Regions from separate parts of the Homo sapiens genome. Here region 1 is linked to region 2. Evidence: promoter capture Hi-C in 16 types of primary human blood cells and fetal thymus (Javierre and others, 2016). All regions are on one chromosome and are shown on one strand. The core of a region is centred on a gene start or on the middle of the fragment in contact, and the rest is flanking DNA. Distances in the headings are between cores, read along the strand shown.

Region 1 (7,270 bases), core at 457-2,956, 40 kb after region 2:
CCTCTCTAAAGCCTCTGAACTTGGAGGCAGGAGTTCTCACCAGCAGCACCAGCCTCGCCTGGTGGGGGACCCTCAGAAATGCAGGTTCTGTGGCCCACCCAGGCTTGCAGGATCCCATACTCTGGGCTTGGGTGCTGGGGGGCACCAGGGCTCAAGGTGCTCCCCGAGGAGAGGAGGAGTGGCTTCCAGAGCGGGCCTGGGCCTGGCAGCCACATCCCTGCCGGGGTAGGCCTGGGCCTGGCAACCCTGCAGCCGCGTCCCTGCTGGGGTGGGCCTGACTCCCCCGGGCTGTGGTGTGGCTTCCTCACCTTCCTCACACCTTGCGGGAAAGCCACGTGGAGTTAGGCTGTCGAGGGAGGGGTGTAATGACCGCGCCAGGGACGGGCAGCGTCTGCACAGAGCCATGCTCCCTCTGCACCCCAGGTGTTGATGTGGATCCCGGGTAGCCGTGGGTGTTGGCATTTTCTTCGTTCCACCTGTTACCTCGTCAGCTATAGGCCCCAGGCCCTAGATCTGCTGCTTTGGCAGCCACAGAGCAGCAAGTGTGTCCAGCCCCAGGGCTCCAGGCTACGCGGCAGCACAGAGGATGTTTTCCGAGCACACCCCAACAGCAAAAAACCGGGTGCCCCAGCCCCGTTATTTAGGGAATGATGCAAGCCGGAAGGGGTGTTCAGCAGAGTGCCTCGTATTTTTATTTTCTTCCATTTAGATAAATAGTGGAGAGAAGGTGGCCGCAGGGACAAATGGCTGTTTGCCAACGCAGCAGCCGGCGGCAGGGAATTAGCGGGCAGGGCGCTGGGGTGAGGCGTTTTCGCCAGCACTTGCAGATGATGTTAATGTGATGTTTGTGGCCTGTGTGCTTGATGCCAATTAGTACCTCCCTCGTTGGTGCTTGAAGCAAGGAAATGCGGGAGACACCTGAGCGCACAGTGGCCCGTTTGACATTTAAAGTCTCCACCCTCCCAGGTGGGAAAGGTCAGACAGCGCTGCACCACGCTCCGTCACTGCAGGCCTGCACCTCCCCATCCCTGCCTCGGTTTTTACTGACCGAAAGCTTGTTATTGCTCAGTGGGAAGGATATTAGATAGGACAAGAAACGAGGCTGTGAAAGGAGGAGTGGAAATAAAGCAATAGAGAAATAATGGCCCAGTCCACCCTATTTGCTGTAAATTATGTCGGTGAGGGGCACTGACGTCGCCCTTTTCACTGTATCTGGATGAGGGGCGGGTGTAGGAATCGAGGCTGTTACTTGGAGGGTAAAGCAGGACCATGAGTGTGGAGAGAGCTCTGAGGTTTCTGTTTGTTTTGTTTTTTGGTTTGTTTGTTTTTTTTTTTTTTTTGAGACGGAGTCTCGCTCTCACCCGGGCTGGAGTGCAGTGGTGTGATCTCAGCTCACTGCAACCTCTGTCTCCTGGGTTCAAGTGATTCTCCTGCCTCAGCCTCCCGAGTAGCTGGGACTACAGGCAGCCCTGGGTTTTAATGGATGTATTTTCACCTGCCTGTGAGTAGCGCCGGTGCCTGGTGCCGCCCGTCTCTGCGGACACAGCTCAGTGCTTGGGTACTCTCCCTGCGTCTTCTGGAATCTTCTGGAATCCCGTCTCTGGTTCTGCCATCTGGGTGTCTTGGGCTGAGGGTGCAGAAATCTATCAATACAGATGCCACTGAGAGGATCCAGGTGTTCTGGAGGACTCAGGAAACTTGAAACAGTAATTAAAAATATCTTTAAAATGTACCCTCAACAATTATTCCAAATCAAGTGGCCCGTGTGTGCGCAGCAGCGACACGGGAGAGGCTGGCTCTGCGTTTCCACAGAAGGAGCCCTTTCCATTGAAACGCGGGAGAAAACGGTCCCCTGCACGGAGAATGTCAGGAGCTGTCAGCATATCTCATTTGTAGAAATTAGTAATTTAAAGAGTTTTGTGATGTATCTGTGGCAGAGTGGATTTCTGTCTCTGCAAGTGTGAGGTAAAAGCAGCTAAAAAGAGGGGGTTTTGGGGGTTAGTTTTCTCTTTCAGTTGGTGGACCACAAATTGGATAAAAATAGAATTTGTGCATAATTTAAAAACAAACGAGAATAGAAAGCTCTCAGTTGCCGTGGAAGCTCCTCGTAACCGCAGACGTGCCCTCGGTGCCGTCGGGTTATTTTAGTACATCCTTTGACGCGGCCCCTTTCCCGCTTTTCAGAAACGAGGCTCATCGCACTGGCCTGGGGGCGCGAGGACGAGGCCGTGGGTAGTGGGCGCTGCGGGCGGCTGGTCAGAGCCACTGGGAGCCGTTGGGAACAACTGGCGCGGGAGTTTCCTGCATTTGAGAAATGCTGTTCTCTTCGTTGTGAATCGTCTGTCCGCTGCATCTCAAAAAGCTTGTCCAGAAAATTAAAGCCCGCTGTCTCCTGCAGTGCAGCTGAGCCCTGGAGGGTGGCGGGGGGCCGGGGGATGTGGGTGTCAGCTCTCGCGGCCAGGGGCACGCTGTGCCCCCGCGCCCGGTATCCCCGTCCTCCCGCACCCGGCGTCCGCGTCCTCCCACGCCCGCTGTCTCCGTCCTCCCCATCCCCATGTGTTTCGCAGTTGGGAAGTGAAGCACGTGAGCAGAACGCAGCACCTTCTCTCCAGGAAGCATTCGGAGCATGGACTCTGGGTTAGGAAAGGGTGTTTGCTCCTCTGGATAGGTGCTCGCTCTTACTTGTGGGTGCTGAGGGGCGTGAGGGGGTCCGGCATCCGGGTACCTGTGGGCGCTGAGGGGCGTGAGGGGGTCCGGCATCCGGGGCTTCTCCCATTTAGGGCCTTTCCTTCAGAGGGAAGGAGGCCAGCCCCCTCCAGTGAGCACTGAGCGTGCCCCCTGCCGTCTCTGTGGGGATGTCATTGTTCCCACGCCGGGGAGAGACCACCCCAGGCCAGCCCCTATTCTTCTGGCCACATTGCCATGATCACACCGTCCGCACCCTGAGGCCACCCCCATTACGGCTGCCACGGCGCTAAAAACACCAGCATCAAAGCAACAGGGCCGTGGTTTAGCCTGGAAGAGCGGGGCCCTGGAGCCGTCTGCGAGGGGGTCTGGGTGGTTCAGGATGGCCGGCAGCCCCTGGTGGACGTGGTCCCTGCGGGGTCTGGCGGGACCTCGGCCATGGTGATGGGTGCGCCCCCTCTGCAGGGTGGGGCCTGCGGGTAAGGACAGTCCCGCCCCCTGTGCGTGTGAGGGGATAGTGGAGAGAGGGGTCTGGCGTGGGCCTCACTGCTCCTGGGAAACCAAAGATGAAGACGCCTGCTTAGGACTCACCTTGCCCTGGTAGAACAAGTGACTCAGACAGAGCCTCCCAGAGGCTTCTGGCCAGGCAGGGAGTGACCAGCAGCGCAGCCAGCCTCAGCTCCTGCCCACACAGCCCCCTTGTCACCGGCTCCTCCTGCCCCTGCTCCAGCACCTTGGCCACCAGTTCTCGGTGGGCCGGTCTGGATCTGCCGATGCCGGGACCTCGCCAGGCCGCTGGTTGCAGGGGAGGCTGAGGGGGCGTCCGCCTGCTGTCTGCTTCTCACCAGCATTTCCAGTGAGGCATGAAAGTGATGCGTGGCGGATGTTTCCCTCTGGCCTCAGCTTTCCCCCAAATCCCAGCTCACACTGAGTGTCCTGATGGTGGCACCTCGGGCAGCCGCCACCCTCTGCCCTCCACCCTCTGCCCTGACGGCAGGCTCTGCCTGAGGGGGAGGGTCTCTCTGTACACACAGTCTCCTCACCCTGGAGGGCCTGCTCTGCTCTCAACGGAGCTGGAACCAGGAGTTCGCGAGTGCTCTGGGTGGCTGCTGGCTTTTCTCCTTGTCTCACCTCCTCATCCGCACACAGCCTCTGCCCTCAGCGCTGCTCACCTCGGTATGTAGGCAGCCGGCATCAGGATGGTCTGGGGTGAGACAGGCAGTGTTCTTCCCCTTCTCTGGCCAGGGAGGGTGGAGAAGCACCCGGGCACAGCCATTGAGGCCTTTTCGTGCAACTCATTGCCTTTCTGGGCGTGAAGGTGGAGGCTGGTCCTCCACCTGCGTGTTCTCCATCTGGGGGACTGTGGTCCCGGAGGAGACCTGGAGTCCGGCTCCCCGCTCCGTCCGAGGAGGAGCTGAGCGGCGTGAGCAGTGCCCGCCCTGGTCACTCTGCCTTGCTTTCCTCCTCTCTGTTTCTGGTTGTGCCTCCTTCCTTCCCTCCTGCTCTCTTTGCCGTGGACTGCAGCCCCCTCGCCAGATGTGTTCCTCACATGAGTCAACCCGTCCTTGGCCTGCGTCCTCCACTGCTCGTGGCAGCTACACTCTCCCGGAGGTGGCCGGGAAGGGCCCAGGGCCTTGAGAAGATGTCTTTGCAGCACGTCCCCGGCCCTCGGCCTCCACCTCCATGGCACCCACCATCCCACGGGGGCACGTGGACCTCTGTGGGATATAGCCTGACCTCTGACCCAGGGGTCAAATAACTCAGGTCTGTTTACCAAGTCACCAAAATAACCTGCCCGATAGCATCTCACCCATCACACGGGAGGCCGGGCTCGTGTGAATAATTAATAGGTCACTGGAATGTGAAACGAGAAGCCTCGGCCCGTTCTGAAACAGCATTTTAGGTTTGCAGCTTATAATATTGTCAGTTAGGAGAAGGGCCAACTGAGTCTGCAAAGAGGTGAGGGCGGGTGGTCTGGGATCCTGCCTCAGCCGCGCGGGTGAGAGGGGCGGGCGGGTCAGGCGAAGACTCAGAGTCAGGAGGCCAGACTGGCCCCAGGGAGGGCTCCTGGCCATACCCCAAGCTCAGGACGCAGGGTGGGGCGGGCCCGCTGGTGCCCACAGTGGCCTTGGTGGGCCTCTCCTTCCATTGCCCAGCTTGTAGGTCAACTTTGCCTCCACAGATCCGTAACAGACGTTTTTTCTGTCATGTAAGAAACTTGACAGCTGAAGACCAAGGAGTGGAGCCTCCCGTGAGGCAGCTCTTCTTTTCCGGTTGTTAAAATGCGCGTCGGGCCAGTGGTTCTGACTAATTCTCACTTTGTGTGGTACCTTCAGCTGGCAGGGGCTCGGGGAGTGTTCAGTACCGTGAGGAGCAGGTTCCTGAGAGCCCGTGAATACCGTGGACAGATTACCACAGCACGCACTGTTCCACGCAGGGCCTCATCCACGCTTTCTTAAGTGGTTTGCCACACACAGGAGCTCCTGGTTCTCCATGTCCCCTGCCAGGCAGGGCTGTTAAACTGGAAAGCCGGGGAGGGACGTCGCTGGGACACATTGTTATCTGATCAGAGCTCCGAGGCCCCACCAGGAGCTGTGCTATTGCAGAACCTCAAACAGCAGCCGCTCCGGCCCCGCCCCAGGAGCCACGCAGAGGCCCACGCACGGGGAGGACGCCGTGGGGTGGAAACTAAAGTGCAGGTCTGACCACAAAACCACACGCCACGGCACCGCTGCTGCCAAATGCCGGAGGCCTGCAGGAGGCACGGATTAATTTTTTATGAGTCTGCCTTGGAACCTAGACAACAGCCCTCTCCTCTTTCAGCACAATTTCAGGGCGAATGACCGTCACTTCCCTGGACTGCTAAGCGCATAAACGCACAGGGAATTTCCTAGTTCCACATACGCCGTTGTTCCCGCAGCCCATGCAGCTGGGAGAGCACACATGGTTGCCGTCGGGCTGTGTCTGTTTTCCCAGGAGCAAGAACTCTCAGAAGTGCAGTGTTGAAGCCCGAGCCTTCCCCGTGTCAGCTTTTATGATGAACGAGGATTCACCATTTATTTCTCCCCTAAAGCAAAGCCCACGGGCTCTGTTTTGAGCGATGGGGACAGATGCTCGGTGCTGCTGGGAAGGTGTTCACGGGGCAGATTCGCTGTGTCAGGAGACCAACGTGGAATGAGGTCGGCCCAGCCAGTCACTGCTTAAAAACAGTAATGACAATATTTGAGAAAATGGGTGGAATTTTGTGGAGATTTACTGGCACGGGGAAGGCGTGTGGCCTCTGGCAGGTCTGCGACACTGATTTCTAACTACCTGTTCCACAGCTCCACTGCCTGGAAAAACTGGCAAAAATGTGGCCTGGGTCTCCTGACAGGCCTGGCCATTGGAGTGGGGGTGTGCAGCTGAGACAGGAAATACGAGGCGCATGAGTGTCCCCAAGCCCAGATCCTCAGCCTCCAAAATCTTCTATTAGTAATTTCAGAGCTTTGGCTTCTTGGTGCTTTGGGAAAATTTAAGATGACGCGTGGGCTCTGGCACGGCCGTTGCTAGTGACCTCTCCTAATAGCGCAGAAGGGCCTCCCAGGAGGCTTTCCTAGGTAGAGAGGGGTCTGCACGCCCACTGGAACATGCTCTATCCCAGCCTCAGAAAACCCACATTTGGTGCAGGTGGGACAGGAGGAGTGGACACGTCACCTGGAGACCACATGAGAAGCGGCCATCTGCAGCAGCAATCACCCCGTGGGGAGGCGGCGCCCTGGCAGCTCTCATGTGGGGCCTGGTCCTTCCTCGCTGCCTGAGCAATGGGCCCTGCTTCCCCGCAGACACCGTGGTGCCCCTGGGCCACACCCAGCAGGTGTCCAGTGACCGAGGGTGGTGTTGGCCATGGCAGGTCCCTGCCCGTTTCTCCGAGGACCTGGGGCTGTGACCCAGCTGGGTTCTCCCGGGAAGGAGCGGCCACTGTCTGCACTGTCCAGTGCTGAGGGTGGCAGCCATTTCTGAAGCCTCCCAGGTTTGTGCCCTGCTGTGTCTGAACAGCTCCGGAGTGCAGGGTCTCTGTGTCAGTGCCGGTTCTAAGAGGAACGAGATGTGGTTTCAGAGACACTCCTCTTCTCTGAGGAGCTGCTGGGCGGGACGGCTGCTTGCTTTCTTTGTCTGTGACGTTGGTGGCTGTTCCTTGCCCAGGCCCTGCCCAGGCCAGACGTGGGAGTGGCGGCTGGGAGCACCCATGGGCGTGTGCCCGTCTGGGCTGGGCTCGTGTCCGTGGACCTGCCTCAAGCCACACCTCCCTCCTCCAGGCAGGACACCGGGCCTTGTCTGTGGACAGAGGCGCTTTGCTGGGAACAGCACAGATGGCCCCTGGGCCCTGCGGAGCCGAGACGCACCATCATACACACTTGGAGCACATAGACTGACCAGGTCTCACCCTGCGAGGCTCCCTGAGGCCATGTCCTAGGGAAATAGAAGGTTTCACCCGGAGATTGGGGAGTGCAGGGCTGTGGCGCTGCAGGGTGCGGGCCCTGAAGGAGGGGCAGGGGTGCTGCTGGATGGTGGCTCTTCCACCCCAGGATTCCTCGGGCCCTTCACC
Region 2 (6,891 bases), core at 3,077-5,576:
CGGGCGTGGTGGCGCACACCTGTAATCCCAGCTACTTGGGAGGCTGAGGCAGGAGAATCACTTGAACCCGGGAGGTGGAGGTTGCAGTGAGTGGAGATCACACCATTGCACCCCAGCCTGGGCAACAGAGCGAGACTCCGTCTCAAAAAAAAAAAAAAAAAAAAAGAAAGAAAGAAAAAGAAAAAAAAAGTGAGCATGTATTTTGCCAGAGTCTGGAGATTAGAATTAAATTAGCAAACCAGAATTATAGAAAAAGCTATTTACTTTTAAGTAAACAGCTGAGATTTTTTTTTTTAAGTCAGTGTGAATGAAGCTCACAGCCATGGTTGGAGCTGAGAAAGAAGGATTTCCCTTTAGTTATGCACCTGTGTCAGCACCTTCTGACTTTCCTTCTAAAGTCTGGGGTGTTCCTGAGGATCCGTAAGTTTGGGGTTCAGGGTTTCTACAGCATGCTGTTACTTGTGAAACATCTCTTTAACCATGTCCCAGAGTTGCCCAGGAGTTTAAGACCAGCCTGAGCAACATAGCAAGACCTCATCTCAACAACAACAAAAATTAGAAATAAATTAGCCAGGTGTGGTGACATGTGCCTGTAGTCCCAGCTACTCAGAAGGCTGAGGCATGAGGATCACTTGGGCCCAGGAAGTTGGGGCTGCAGGGAGCCCTGTTCATGCCGCTGCACTCCAGCCTGCAAGACAGAGCAGAAAAAAAGAATCAGGATCCTGGGCAGAGGGAGGAGAGGGGACCGGGGTCCAGCAAGCACTTGGGGATTGACTGAATGGCGTTGGGGAGAGATGACTCCAAAGTCCTGGAGTGGGTGAGAATGACTGCGAGTGGCTTTTAGGTGGGGAGGTTCCTGCCTGGCCACTCCGGGAGGGGACGTGGGGCTGAAGGGTATCAGGTGCCGTGCTGAGCAGTTTGGCCTTGATCCTAATGCCCTGGACACACGTCTAGGGTAGGAAAGTTGACTGATCCATTGGTGATCTGAGTTTTTAGACATGGTGGTAGTCCATGAGGTGGGTGTTCATGCTAAGAGTTTAGACAGGGAAACCTATGAAGCCCTTAGCAACCCTCCAGGGAAGGGGCGTGGTTAAAGAGATGTTTCATAAGTAACAGCATGGTATAGAAACTCTGAACCCCAAATGTATGGGTCCTCAGGAACACCCCAGACTTTAGAAGGAAAGTCAGAAGGTGCTGACACGGGTGTATAACTAAAGGGAAATCCTTCTTTCTCAGCTCCAACCATGGCTGTGAGGTTCATTCACACTGACTTAAAAAAAAAAATCTCAGTTTACTTAAAAGTAAATAGCTTTTTCTATAATTCTGGTTTGCTAATTTAATCCTAGTCTCCAGACCCTGGCTAAATAAATGCCCATTTCTCCAGATGGTCTCAAGAGTCTCTGGACATCGTGGGGGCCCTTCCCTGTTGGTTGGAAGGTGCCTCAGGAAGAAGGGGGTGGATTCTGAGTTGAGTCAAAACCTCAAAGACCCCTGATGGGAAAAGCTCTCAAGTGACCACCGCTGTGGGCCAGAATGCAAAACTGCAGGAACAGAACATTCGCAGGAACAGAACACAGTCGTATTAAGTGATTTTCCCGAGCAGGAAGTGGCATCTGGCCTGCGGTTCAGTAGGGGGAGGAAAGGGTGGGCGCACCTGCCCCTGGCTGGCGCACCTGCCAGGTAGCCCCACGCGGCACCGCGTGTGCCGAGCGCCCCTGAGGATGGAAAGCCCCACGCGGGGCAGGTGGCACCCACCCTCCGAAGACGGGACGGGATGGAGCGTTGAGCTTCGGGGCAGCTCCGGCCCGGCCCGCGCTGGAGACGCCCGCATCTGCCAGGATGGCGTCTCATAGCCCTGGTGCTCACACATGACGCCAGGAAGCCCCAGCAACAGTGACCGCCCAGGCTCTAGAAAATATTGGACGGGGTGGATGAACACCCAAGTGCGCTCCAGGAGAAGGGATTTGGCACCCCAAGGGGCTTTTAAAACGGTAAGCTTCTAGGGGTGTCTTTGCCCCCAATAATCCATAGAAACAACAGTCATCTAAAAATAGTCTTGTTTTCTGTCCTAAGCTCCTTTTAACTTTGTTAGTCATCACCAATCCTAAAATAAAACCCGTGTAACGTCTCCCCTAGTAGCGGCTATAAACAAACCTACGAGGAGGCAGGAGGAAGAGGAAAGGGGCGCAGGGCGCTCGGGGAGCAGAGCCGGGGGCCCGCGGTGGCCGCAGAGGCCGGGCCGGGGCGCAGAGGCCGGGCGAGCTGGCCGCGCTCTGGGCCGCCGCCTCCGGAACTCCCTGCGCCTGGCGCGCGGCCACCGTGGTCCCGGCAACGGCATTAAACAGAGGGAAACAGACCCGGGATTCCGTCACCCGGGCGGGGGGATAAGGACGGCTTTGAGAGCAGACAGGAAAAGGGAGCTTTTCTGCATGGGGTGAAAAAATTATTTATTGAAGGAGGAGGAGGCGGCAGCGGAGGAAGGGGAGGGGCGGGAGGAGGAGGAAGAGCCGGCCGCCCCCGCCCCGGCCCCGGCTCCTCAGGAGCCAAGGGCAGCCTCGCCAGGTCGGTCCCGGGCTCGAGGACCGCGGCTGGGGTCGAGGGGCTCAGTCTCCCACGTGACCGGCTGGGCGCGCCCCGCCAGACCCGGCCTCGGGATTCCCTCCTCCCGGCGAGTCTCCGCCCGCCCCGTCCTGGAGGTGGGGAGAAGGAGGGCGGGGCGGGGGGGACGGAAACTCTCCCCGCCAAATCCTGGCCCCAGGCCTGGGGACACTCGCGGCGGGAAGATTTGGAGGGGAGGGGAGGGGGAGGGGCGTGGGGGCGCGGCCTCGCTGGAGTCCCCCTGACCCCCCGACCCCCGCCCACCGGCCTGGGCGTCCTCCCGCGGCCCCTCCTCCCCTCCCGGCGCCCGGTGCTCTGGGGCGCGTGCCACGCCTGGCTCGGCGCCGTAGGGGCCCCCGCAGGTAGAGACCCCTGGAAATGGCCTCGACGCCGCAGGAGCGAGGCGGCCACCACCCCGCTAATCCGGGCACGTCTCTCCAGGCCGAGGCCTGCGGTGGAAAAGCCGGGGTTCCATTTGTGCTGAGTCGGGGCGGCCGAATGGAGCCAGGCCTCGGGACGCGGGACGGACGGGCTCTGGCCGCGCACCTTCGCGGGCTCTGCAGCGCCCGACCGCCTCCCCCGGCAGGGAGGAGGCGCTTGTGGGGGGCACCCACGGGGCACAGTGATCCCTGGGGGTCTGCGGACCTCCTGGGCCCCGCAGCAGACACGAGTTTAGCCTTTGGGTTTAGTTTAAATCACATAAGGGTGTCGTGCAATCGATTTATGGTTTCTACACACCAGACACTTTAACCTCCAACCCCCCCCATCCAAAGCCAACAAGAAAATGCGGTGCCGTGTTGGCAGCTGAGCTGCGCCCGAAGAGACGCAGGGAGACGTAAGAGAGGAAAGTGTGAGTGGCCGGGGGGCCTCCCCCCGTCAGAAGTCGCGCAGTCGCGCCCATAAAACGCCCCCTCCGGGCGGCTAGGGCAGGTGAGCGCGTCCCCGGGCCTCCCCACGCCGGCCCCTGCCACAGGCCGTCTAGGTCGAGCAGATATTTACAGAATAAAAATGACAATAACTCGACGTCCCGGGACGGCCACGCAATCTGTTAGTAATTTAGCGGGATGGGAATTTCCTTTCTAGGGCCTGCCAGTGAAGCGCTTTTCCAAATTTCCACAGCGGGGGAAGCCTGCGATTTTACATAATGACTTCAGCATGCCGGGCTTTCTCGACACCCCTCCCCGGCCCCCGGCCCCCGCCCCCCGCCCCTTTTCCAGCAGGGCCGGGCTCCCTCCGGACACCCGCGTGGACTCAGGCGTCCCGTCTGGCCCGTTCGCCCCCGTTTCCCCCGCCAGCCCCAGCGCCCCCCTGCCCGGCCCCCGGATTCCCCGTTCCCGCCCCTACGCCCCCATCCCCTCCCCGTGCGCCCCTCCCCGTGCGCCCCCCTCCCCGTGCGCCCCCCCTCCCCGTGCGCCCCCCTCCCCGTGCGCCCCCCCTCCCCGGGCGCCCCCCTCCCCGGGCGCCCCCCCTCCCCGTGCGCCCCCCCCTCCCCGTGCGCCCCCCCTCCCCGTGCGCGCCCCGCCTCTTGCGCCCCTGCCCCCAGGCGAGCGGCTGCCGCGGCGCGGGGAGGGGCGGGCGCTCGGCGACTCGTCCCCGGGGCCCCGCGCGGGCCCGGGCAGCAGGGGCGTGATGTCACGGCAGGGAGGGGGCGCGGGAGCCGCCGGGCCGGCGGGGAGGCGGGGGAGGTGTTTTCCAGCTTTAAAAAGGCAGGAGGCAGAGCGCGGCCCTGCGTCAGAGCGAGACTCAGAGGCTCCGAACTCGCCGGCGGAGTCGCCGCGCCAGATCCCAGCAGCAGGGCGCGGGCACCGGGGCGCGGGCAGGGCTCGGAGCCACCGCGCAGGTCCTAGGGCCGCGGCCGGGCCCCGCCACGCGCGCACACGCCCCTCGATGACTTTCCTCCGGGGCGCGCGGCGCTGAGCCCGGGGCGAGGGCTGTCTTCCCGGAGACCCGACCCCGGCAGCGCGGGGCGGCCGCTTCTCCTGTGCCTCCGCCCGCCGCTCCACTCCCCGCCGCCGCCGCGCGGATGCCAAGCACCAGCTTTCCAGTCCCTTCCAAGTTTCCACTTGGCCCTGCGGCTGCGGTCTTCGGGAGAGGAGAAACTTTGGGGCCCGCGCCGCGCGCCGGCGGCACCATGAAGTCAGCGGAGGAAGGTAAGCCCCGCGCGGCCTCCGCCCCCGGACCCCTGCGCCCCCCACGGCCCGGGCCGCGCCCCCCGACCCCGCCCCCGTCGCCCGCACGGAGGGGTCCGGGCCAGAGAACGAGGTCGGCCGGGTCTGTGCGCCCAGGGAGGGGCGCGGCGCGGACCGGGAACGGCGTCCCCCAGCTCCCAGCAGCCCGGTTCCGAGCGCGCCTTCTGCCAATAGGTGTCTCCTCTGCCCCAGCGCTGAGGGCGCGAGGCGAGGCCGCCGCGGGTCCCGCCGAGGAAGCGGCTCGCAGGCCGGCGATTTGGGGACGGGCGAGGCTGGGCCGTCAGGACCACAGAGGGCACGTGGGAGGGAGGAAGGGAGGCTTCCTTGGGAGTGAAGGATGCCCCGTGTCTTCCTGAGCGAGGCAGAGCCACCCTCTGGCGCCAAGATCGCGGTTTGGGGGTTCTGCGCCCCCCACCCCCACCCCGAGCTCGTGGCGGCGTCTCCCTCGCGCCGCGCCCCTGAATTCCCCAGGGCCGAGCCCGTCACGCCGGCTCCTGGACCTGCAGGACCAAAAGATCCAAAGCGCGGCCGCAGCACAGCCCCGAATTTAAGCCATTTTGAAATCCTATAGGCAGGAGTTCCAGCCAGAGAAGATGTTTCAGGCAAGTTTGAAAAGGAACCGCCAAGTTTCGAGCTGCTTCTTTATAGTGAAAAAAAGATGGCACAGTGTGGGTCCCTGAAACCCGGTGTGGGGGGCGCTGAGACCCCCCTGCGGCGCATCTCACATTCCAGTCCCCCACCTTAGCCCGTCCCCGGCACACACCCCTGGCGATGCCGGGTGGGCTCCTGCAAGTGGCTTTGAAAATACCCTTGCAGAGGTGTGAGCATACGAGTTAGGGATTAGGGATTGCAATGCTAATGGAAATTGGAAGACGCTTTTCCAAATTCCTTACCAGCTCTGAAATATTTTATATAATTTATTTAAAGAGCGCCAGCACACCTGCCAACATATGTACTTCATAAGGGCAGACGTCCTTCCGAGCGCTGCCGCTTCCTGCGCGACCCTGATAACTGCGGGGCTTGCTTGAGAACCGGGCTCCCCCAGCTCTGGAAAACTCGCTGGTCTTAGCAGAGCTGAGCACAGGGCCGTGAGCTCCACGGAGGGGGGTCCGTGTGGTCGGTGCCCTGACGCTTCACGGGACGGGAGGTAGACACCACTTCATCCCAATGTTAGAAAATGTTGACATGTTTAAACCATGTCCCGTGTCAGTGTTTTACACAATGTGCTCTTGCTAGTAGCAGAGTTTAAAAAATTTTTTTTTGTTGGAGTTTCGGTTTTAAATCCTGGGACACTTACGCCGCAGTGTTCATTATCACTCCCTTTAGAAAGGCAGGTCTTTCCAAGTTCAGATCTCTGTACCTGAAGAGCCGGTGGCCGACCTGTAGTAAGGAGCCCCTTTCTTTTACGCAAGGAAAAAACACGACGGGGCAGTGGCTAGTTTTCGTGTTTCCTACTGAAGAAAATAAGCTCGAAAAGGTCCCTGCTGCAAGGCAGTGCGCCGGGCAGCGACGCCCGACCGACATGGGTGTATTTTATGAGGGCTGCAGAACTGGGCCAGCCGGAAAGTGTGATCTAGTCCTTGATACACACAGGCCGGCAGCATGGGGACACGCGTGGTTTCCACACCAGCCATCGCTGAGACCACCGGGAAGAACTCTGAGTCCTTCTGAGTAGGCCCCACGAGGCCATTCCTGGCCCATCTGAGGACCTGGGCGCCTCCCCTGCGTCCCTCGGGTTTCGGGACCATCTGGGTGGAAGCTCATTAGGCGTCGTGGTTCCTGAAGGCCCCGGGCTTGCTTCCTCATGGAGAACGCAGAGAAGTACAGGCCTGTAAGTAGCCACCCAGTCAGAAGTCGCTCCAGACACAATGCCCCACGGGCTGGGGCCAAACAAAGCTCACCCTGTTCTCTGCCACTTAACTTCACAGCGTTGTTTCCCAGCTCAGATTAGAAAATGGCAGGGCGCTGGCACCCCGCTTCATCACACCCAGCGGGGCTTCTGTCTCCGCAGACATCCCCAGCCTCTGGGAGGATGCGTCCAAGCTAAACATTTCCATGGAGACACCCAGTGTCTGTGGAACGGGCAGCTTTGAATCTGGACCAA

What was found. The method cuts DNA at HindIII sites, captures the fragments that hold promoters and counts their contacts. A CHiCAGO score of 5 or more calls a contact.
Region 1: a fragment that was not itself captured here is called in contact with the fragment with the promoter of NFATC1 in region 2 in 1 of 17 cell types (non-activated CD4 T cells); the score reaches 5.4 in non-activated CD4 T cells.

Annotation. Positions count from the first base shown.
Region 1 is chr18:79,434,029-79,441,298 of GRCh38, forward strand. The region is part of intron 3 of NFATC1 (nuclear factor of activated T cells 1); the gene reads left to right. It overlaps LOC124904334 (a long non-coding RNA gene), which reads left to right. Exons shown (of 2, transcript XR_007066426.1): 1 at 1-7,270. Among named protein-coding and RNA genes, the nearest start is that of NFATC1, 42 kb to the left of the region's middle. The HindIII fragment of the contact is 1,308 bases long and covers 1,053-2,360 here.
Region 2 is chr18:79,391,604-79,398,494 of GRCh38, forward strand. It overlaps NFATC1 (nuclear factor of activated T cells 1), which reads left to right and starts at 4,327. Exons shown (of 10, transcript NM_001278669.2): 1 at 4,327-4,748. The coding sequence starts at 4,622. RefSeq lists enhancers at 1,203-1,728, 1,729-2,253, 2,958-3,077, 4,719-5,266 and silencers at 2,448-2,737, 4,163-4,562, 4,923-5,022. The HindIII fragment of the contact is 8,960 bases long and covers 1,995-6,891 here.